3 separate regions of the Homo sapiens genome follow, and regions 1 and 3 are each linked to region 2. The links are contacts of gene promoters, found by promoter capture Hi-C in blood cells and fetal thymus (Javierre and others, 2016). All regions are on one chromosome and are shown on one strand. Each heading gives the region's core, a stretch centred on a gene start or on the middle of the fragment in contact. The rest is flanking DNA. Distances are from core to core; before and after follow the strand shown. Region 1 overlaps SLC38A9 (solute carrier family 38 member 9). Region 2 holds the start of CCNO (cyclin O). Region 3 has its middle 86 kb from the start of ESM1.

Evidence for each region. The method cuts DNA at HindIII sites, captures the fragments that hold promoters and counts their contacts. A CHiCAGO score of 5 or more calls a contact.
Region 1: a fragment that was not itself captured here is called in contact with the fragment with the promoter of CCNO in region 2 in 1 of 17 cell types (fetal thymus); the score reaches 5.1 in fetal thymus.
Region 3: a contact is called between a fragment that was not itself captured here and the fragment with the promoter of CCNO in region 2, in 1 of 17 cell types (non-activated CD4 T cells). The highest score is 5.2, in non-activated CD4 T cells.

Annotation. Positions count from the first base shown.
Region 1 is chr5:55,704,437-55,707,160 of GRCh38, reverse strand. All of the region lies in intron 2 of SLC38A9 (solute carrier family 38 member 9), which reads left to right. Among named protein-coding and RNA genes, the nearest start is that of SLC38A9, 6.5 kb to the left of the region's middle. The HindIII fragment of the contact is 2,954 bases long and covers 1-2,724 here.
Region 2 is chr5:55,232,358-55,235,272 of GRCh38, reverse strand. CCNO (cyclin O) reads left to right here and starts at 1,665. Exons shown (of 3, transcript NM_021147.5): 1 at 1,665-2,130; 2 at 2,727-2,912. The coding sequence starts at 1,750. CCNO-DT (CCNO divergent transcript) reads right to left here and starts at 1,379. Exons shown (of 5, transcript NR_185977.1): 1 at 1,233-1,379. RefSeq lists silencers at 1,359-1,568, 1,438-1,732, 1,979-2,058 and enhancers at 2,207-2,846, 2,847-2,915. The HindIII fragment of the contact is 3,477 bases long and covers 1-2,915 here.
Region 3 is chr5:54,898,216-54,900,915 of GRCh38, reverse strand. No RefSeq gene overlaps it. Among named protein-coding and RNA genes, the nearest start is that of ESM1, 86 kb to the left of the region's middle. RefSeq lists a silencer at 1,087-1,244. The HindIII fragment of the contact is 5,239 bases long and covers 1-2,700 here.

The DNA of each region.
Region 1 (2,724 bases), core at 194-2,693, 470 kb before region 2:
CCAGCACTTTGGTACTTTGGGAGGCTGAGGCAAGAAGATTACTTGAGGCCAGGCTGGGCAACATAGTGGCGCACAGCTGGGATCCCAGCTATTTTAGAGGCTGAGGTGGGAGGATAGCTTGAGCCTGGCGGGAGGAGGTTGCAGCAAGCCCAGATGGCACTACTGCACTCCAGCCTGGGTGACAGAGTGAGACCCTGTCTCAAAAAAAAAAAAAGAAAGCATATCTGTTGTCACCTGAAATTCTCAGGAGCAACGAGTACAGTTGTTTCTGTTGTGACAAAACTTGCACCATCTACACAAAAAAATAAAAATTAAAAAATTTAAATAAAAAAATTCCACCTTGGCTCTGTGTGGGGAAAAAAGGAGGGGACATTAAATTTCTGTTGAAAATTTAACATCATGCTAATTGACTAATTGAGACAACTGCAAATTACCAGTTTTCTTACAGTTCTTCATATTTACTTGAATATTATAAATCTTTGAAAGGCACCAGGGACTTTGAACTCCTCATTTATGATTTGTTATTTGAAATCATCAGTTTTCTACTTATTTAGAATAAATAGCTAATTCTGCTATGCTGCAGAACTTTGGATTTGCTCAGAACAAATACACATAGGTGACTAAACTGGAAATTTTAATTCCTCAGTGGCCCTTACATTTTTCCCCAACCTTGATTTCACTTTTTGATAAGGTTCACTGAAATCCAAGGATCTTTCTAGATTTCTCCTCTTTCCTGGTTTCTTCACTTTCAATCTTTAAGTAAAGTATTAATTTCCAGAAAGTGAAAGGATCTTCTCTCTCTAAACTCACCCACATTCTCAGTTTAGTTTAGGAACCAATACTACAGAGTATATTGGTTTACAAAGTAAATTAGAAAGTATAGCCATATATTTCTGCCATTGTTTAGGCAGATATGTTTTTGCTACTCTGACTTGGCTTCTGTCCTTTCCCTTGTTTCACTGCCACTGGAAGGGTTGTTGCTGGGTAAGGAAATATTGAGCCTTGAGACAAAAAATTTTGCAACAAAAGAAATTTACCTAAACTAGCTTGCTTCAAGAAAAACAGATTCATGGTGTTTAATGTGTAATCCGGATACCCAGGCATGAAATTTCACTCATTCTAGCCCTGATTATGTCTTAAAGAGTTTAAAGCCAGCCAGGCACGGTGGCTCCTGCCTGTAATCCCAGCACTTTGGGAGGCCGAGGCAGGCAGATCACAAGGTCAGGAGTTCGAGACCTGCCTGGCCAATATGGTGAAACCCCGTCTCTACTAAAAATACAAAAAAATTAGCTGGGTGTGGTGGCAGGCACCTGTAGTCCCAGCTACTCGGGAGGCTGAGGCAGGAGAATTGCTTGAAATGGGGAGGCGGAGGTTGCAGTGAGCCAAGATTGTGCCACTGCACTCCAGCCTGGGTGACAGAGCGAGACTCCGTCACCAAAAAAAAAAAAAAGAGTTTAAGGCCATTTGCCATTATAGCTATTATTTTATATTTACAAAACTAAACAAAGAAGACCTGATTTTCAGATGCTTCTTTTGTCTTCCAACCTAACTCCTCCTTTTTAAGGCAGACATCAGAGTATACTGGAAATAACATTTAGAATCAAAGTGACCTGGTTTCAATCCCAAGTATGGTTTTCTTAGCTTAGTGATTTAGGACAAATTACTTCTCTGAGCTTCAATTAATTTCTTTCTTTTTCTTTCTTTCTTTCTTTTTTTTTTTTGTAATATGAAGGTAATACCCATTTCCCAAATTCTAAGGATTTATTGGATTTAAACAATAACATGTAAAACATTAGGCCAGTATTAGGCATTCAATAAATAAATGTTAGTTCCATCTCCCACTATCTTCTATTAACTTGTGTTTTTCTCTCAATTTTCCTTCAAAAATGACACCAAGTTTTGTCTTTTTGATATCCTTTAGTGCTATCTTGTTTGTGGCAGTTCAATAATTCTATTATATAAAGGTCAACCTTTTTATTTTTCTTACCTTGCTGAGTTTGCTCACTTTATACTAAAGGCATGTAGATACATCAGCTGATTTTGTTCAGGCCGCTAAGTTAAGGCAATACATATTTTTTCTTTTTCTTTTAAAAAAAGTTTCTTCTTGTATGTCCTTCCAACGAGTAATTTTTCTAGTTTTAAACAGCCAAATTCATAATAAAAGTGATAGCTATGTTTGTTGAATATTCAGTGTGTACCAGCCACATTATATGTATTATCTCATTTTAATCCGAAACCCTGTAAGACTAGTATTTTTATTATCTCCAAAACCAATGAATCTTAGGGAATTTAAGTAAGTTGCCCAAAGTTGCACAGTTAATAAATGGCAGAACCAAGATTCACATCCAGGCAATCTTACTTGTGAGCTATCAACCACCACACACTACTTGATAGCACCAGAATAGCCCAAATCTCAAATTACCCAATGTGTGTAATTCAGACAAATTAATGCCTTGCAGTTCTTTCTGAAAGTGCTTTTATGCATTGTTGGAGATTTAGGAGTGATACGGTTCTGGCTACTTATCAATATTAAAATTTTTCTCTAGCATTTCTTAACAATTCTATGGATTGCTGTTCTTCCCTACAATATAAAAATTTTATTAACCTTCGTTAAGTTCAAAAATAATAATAGTAAACTCTTACACAGACTTTGGTAAAAGTTTGACATTTTTCTAAATGCTTGTACTTACTAACTTATAGGTTTTTAAAATTTTCATGTGTTTC
Region 2 (2,915 bases), core at 416-2,915:
TTCTCGATTCTCGTGCCTCAGCCTCCCAAGTAGCTGGGATTACAGGTGTGTGCTATCACCCCCAGCTAATTTTTGTATTTTTAGTAGAGATGGGGTTTCACCATGTTGGTCAGGCTGGTCTCAAACTCCTGACCTCATGTGATCCACCTGCCCTGGCCTTCCAAAGTGCTGGGATTACAGTCGTGAGCCACCACGCCCGGCCCAAATGACATTATTTAGGGCAGAATAGAGAGCTTGCTCAGAGTTATGGGGAAATAGGAGGAACAGTGGTCAGAACCCAAAATCCATTCCTTTTCTTTCACCTGCATCTCTAGGAGACACCATCCCACCATCTACTAAATTTTCATAGACAGAAACTTGTACTTTGAGCAGACACATTTATCAGCTTTCTTCTGGAATGAGGTTAGGTGGCTGAACCTGCTCTTGGTTTGGCACCCAGTAGCCTCGCCTCTGGAAAACACCAGGGTTGAGGGTACCTGAGCTTTCTGCCGTTGCTAAGTGCCTGTGAGGTTGATTATGGGCTACTTGTGCTCCTGCAGCCCCTTCTCCTATAGGGTCAGAGACCCTCAGGAAGATTCACTCAGGCCACAGAAGGGCTCCAGCTTCTACCAGGACGGGAGTCTGTGGACTAAACCCGAGGCGCCTTGAGGAAACTGCCACGCCCGGTCGGCCTGGGCGTCCCCATTCCAGCTTTAATTTCCCTGAGTTTATCACCCTGAAGGAGCGGACGCAGGAAGCAGGGAAAAACCAAGGACTGGGCTGCCGGCGGGGCAGAAGGCCAGAAGCTAATGACCTAAAACGGAACAGGCTGTGAGCAATTCGATCAAACTCGAAATGCAACTTTCCAACAATGTTCTTAAACCGCTGTAGCCCCAGCTTGCTTGGCTTGGGGTGAAAAGTGTGGGAGAAAGTCTTCACGGCCTGCAGACTTGCTTGCCGACTGAGGTTGATCCGGCAGTTTTCCGTTTTGTTTTGAGCGCGAAAGCGTGGCTGGCTGGTGGAGCTCCAATCTATTCCGCAGCACAAACGGCCCTTCTGAGGCTCTGCTCCCCGAGGCTGGCGGAAGGAAGGGCACTGGCTACTCCGGTACCCACCGAAACAAAACCGACAAACGCAACCGAATTAACACTATTGCTTGTTTGGGTCACTGAAGAAAACTTTTCCCGTGTCGACAGAATTCTAGCCCGACTTTCGTTTGGAACTCAGGATCAGACCTTTACAAAATTACCGACCTGGGTTAGAGGTGCCCGCACGTGTCGAGACCATCTGGCCAAGGACAGAGAGATGCCCCCTGGGAGAATGTTTTAACCGGCGCAGCGGAGCCGCTTGGCTGCGCCCGCCGCAGCCCTACTCCCACTCCGTGCACCGGGCTCCGCAGTGACCCGGGCTCCGCAGTGACCCGGGCTCCCGCAGCGACCCGGGCTCCGGTTGCCCAGGTAACGCAGGACGCAGGCGCGAAAGGCGGGTGCCTGGCGCGCGCTGCAGCTCCCCCTCCCCCCGGCGGGCCGCGGAGGCGACGCGCTGCCTGCGCCCTGAGGCGAGTGGTTCTCCAGCCGGAAAATCGCGGCTCCGGTGCCGCTCTGGGCTCAGCCAGTGAGAGGCCGGGGGTGTGGTAGAGAGAAGGAGCCGGCCGGGTACTTAGGACCGCGCCAGCCTCTGAGCCCGGCCTCCTTCGCACTTTCGAGTGCGCGTTTGCTGCCCGCCGCAGCCCGGGCGTTGAAGGTAGTAAAGCGGCCACCCGGCCGCATCATGGTGACCCCCTGTCCCACCAGCCCCTCGAGCCCCGCCGCCCGAGCGGGGAGGCGGGACAACGACCAGAACCTTCGCGCCCCGGTGAAGAAGAGCAGGCGTCCGCGCCTCCGGAGGAAGCAGCCGCTGCATCCCCTGAACCCGTGCCCGCTCCCGGGAGACTCCGGCATTTGCGACCTGTTCGAGTCCCCCAGCTCCGGCTCAGACGGCGCAGAGAGCCCCTCTGCGGCGCGGGGTGGTAGCCCCCTGCCCGGCCCGGCCCAGCCCGTGGCGCAGCTAGATCTACAGACCTTCCGCGACTACGGCCAGAGCTGCTACGCCTTCCGCAAGGCGCAGGAGAGCCACTTCCACCCGCGGGAGGCGCTGGCACGGCAGCCACAAGTGAGGTGCTGGTAGAGCCAGCTCCACGCCGCCGCTCTTCCTCTCCTCCCAGGCTCTCTCCTCTCCTGCCGGCTCGGCCCTCCGAGCGCCCGGGCCCGCGACAGCCCAGGTCCCGCCCCGAGTCGAAGCACAAGGGGCCGTGGAGGGGCGTCACCGGCCTCATTTTACAGATGGAGAAAAGTGGGGCGTAGACGGCTTGAGGGACTTGCCCCGTCCCAAGCTGGCTACTGGGGCACGGTAGAGAGGAATTCGTTTCCGGGTTGAGTCTGGACTCCTACCGAACTCGGGCAAGTTATTTAACACCCCTGAGCTTCTTTCTTCATCTGCAAAATGGAACCCCTCCCCTTCCTTTGAATTGCTGAGCCCATTACGCGAGGTAACGTGTACGACGCTCTCTGCACAGCGCCAGGTCCCAATCCCGGTGTTCCGGCTCAGCACGGCCCACGCGTTTCCCAGTTTCCATTGCGTTTCTCTTTCTGAAATCTTCTTGCCCCTCTCCTGGGAAGCTCCCCGATTCTTCTTGGCCCTTCCTTCCCTTCCACAGTCCCTCTCCACCCTAAGCCCAGCGGGCCCGCCTCCCCCCTCCTTCCCGGCAGGTGACGGCGGAATCCCGCTGTAAGCTGCTCAGCTGGCTGATCCCGGTGCACCGCCAATTCGGCCTCTCCTTCGAGTCGCTGTGCCTGACGGTGAACACTCTGGACCGCTTCCTCACCACCACGCCGGTGGCTGCAGACTGCTTCCAGCTGCTTGGGGTCACCTCCTTGCTCATCGCTTGCAAACAGGTA
Region 3 (2,700 bases), core at 116-2,615, 330 kb after region 2:
TGACTTGCTTTAACTTTCTTCCTTCATTGTAAAGTCTTGCTCCCAAATGCTCTGTGAGGACACTCGTTGAAGTGGCTATCATTGATTTATATTTCTGTGTGAGGAATTCCAGCCCCTTTCTTCAGGGTAGGTTTTTACTCTGAGAAATTATGAAGATGGCAGAGGAATAGAAGGGTCCCCATGGGAACAAAAGCAGGACTGGCATTTGGGGGTATTAAGATACACACTTTACTGACTTCTAAATTTTCCTTGAGGTCTCTGAGTTCTGCTGTAAAATAGTTTGGCTGGCTTTCCATTACTCTCCTATGAAAATGGTAAACTGACAACTTCAAATAGAAAAAAATTTCATATTAATTTCTTCATTTCTTCATCAACTACTTATTGAGTACATGCTGTGTCAGCTGCTGGTCCAGACCCTGGGGAGATAACACAGCATCGATGGTCACTTGGATTAGAGCAGCAACAGAGATGGAGAGAAGCAGATTGATTTGAGTCATGTTTAGATGTAGGGCTAACAGGACTTTGGGTATAAGGAAAAGAGATGAATGAGTGTTGATTCGTAAGGTTTGGACTTGAACCATGAGATAGATGGTGGTGCTATTACAGAGATGAAGGGGATGAGAGGAGGACCAGGCTTGCAGAGCAGAAGTCAAGGCTTCCATTTTTGTCACATTAATTTTGAGATGACTATTTGACAACTGGGGGAAAATGGCAAGCAGGCCTATCTTATTCAGTTCAGGCTGTCATAACATAAGGCCCCATGGACTGGGTGGCTTAAATAACAAACATTTTATTTCTCATAGTTCTAGAAGCTGGGAAGTCCAAGATCAAGGTGCCTGCACATCCAGTGTCTGGTGAGGGCATTCTCCTTGGTTTGTAGACAGCTGTCTTCTCATCGTATCCTCACATGGTAGAGAACAGAGAGAGGAAGCTAGCTCTCTGGTCTCTCCCAATAAGGAAACTAATCCCATTAATGTGGGCTCCATTTTCAAGATCGAATTACCTCTCAAGGCCCCCACTCCTAATACCATCACATTGAGGGTTAGGATTTCAGCATTTGAATTTGGGCAGGGAGGTGGGGGAGAAGGCCAGACATTTGGTCCATAACAAGGGCTTTGGATACACAAGTAAGGCTGAAACCCAGGGGGCCCCTCAGAACCAGAAGTATGAATTTGGGAGTCCTTTCCATGTAGTACTTCAAACCATGGGGCGGGAAAAAATTTGTAGATGGAGAAGAAGAGAGCAGGTAGGGCTGAGCTCTGAGTGCAGAGATGGCTTAGAGGACATGGAGCTAGCAGAGGAGACTAAGCAGGTGCAGTCACTGAAGTGGGAGGTTAACACAGAGCCTGTTGCTTTATGGAAGCCAAGAAAGGAAAGGATTTCAAGGAAAGAGCAGTCAGTTTGAATGCTACTGAATGTAGGGCGAGATGAGAACAGAGAGTACCATCAGGTGTGGTGATTGGCGCTTTCTGCTCTCATCTCATCCTACCTTCAGTAGCTCAGCAGGAAACAGAAATTATACTGCCCTGATTGAATGGGTGCAAAGAGAAGGGGACATCATGTGCTTCAAAGAGTTGGATCAGAAGAGTTGGGGGGAAGTTAGGTATGGTGAAGGGACTATAATATCAGGAAAGGGATTTTTAGGATTAGAATATCCTTTTTAGCTGGAAAAATAGAGAGGGGGATATTGAAGATTGCAGGAGAGAAAGAAAAAGAGAGAGAGAGACGCCTTGAAGAAGCAGAAGGGAATGGGATCTAGAGGCAAGTGGAGGTTTGCCCTGAATAAGTAACTCTAGTGCCTGTAACAAGATGCCGGGTGCAGGGATGACGAGGCTGGGTTGAGGTTGGTCAAAAAGAGACTAAACTCCAAAAGAGGTGAGAAAGCGGAGACAGTGAAAGGAAATGACGCTTTCCAAAAGAAGACTTCTTTCTCTGTGCTAAAGGAAAGGATACATGTTGGGCTACGGAAATGGGATGGAATTTGGAGTTAAAACACTTGAGTCCCAGGATTGAGACTCATCTTAAGCTACTGAGTGTAGCTTACCTGCCCAACAGATTTTTCTGAGGGGAAAAAAGGGGCAATTCACCTACTCAAAAGAATCAAGATGTAATTATTTTCTTAGAATATCTCCACAATTTGATCATGAGGGCTTATCAAAATTTCATGAAAACAGACATTGCATGAATACTCTTAGTATCCACTTATTCATTCATTCATTCATTCCACAGATAGTCATTGAAAACCCATTATGGCCCAAGCACTGCTGCAGGCATTGGGGTTGCTCAGTGACCATACCAAGTCTCTGCCACATAGAGTTTACATTAGAGTGGGAAGGAAAACTATAAATAAGGATCTATGTATACCAGATGGTTATCAATGTTGTGGAGAAAAAGCAGCTTATGCAGAATGGAGGAGCTGTTATCTATGGTGACTATGGGAGTCCTCACCAGTTAGAGTACATTTAAGCAGAGACAGCAGCATGGGACAAGCCATGAGGACGCAGATGCTCCTCATTTTACAATGGGGTTATGTCCCTAGAAGCCCATCAGGAACCTCATAAGCCTATCATAAGTTGAAAATATTGTTAGTCAACAGTGTGTTTTCAACTTACGGTATTTTCAATTTACAATGGGTTTATCCAGATGCAACCCCATCGGGAGCTAAGGAGTGCACTGAATGTGCATCACCTTTGCACCATT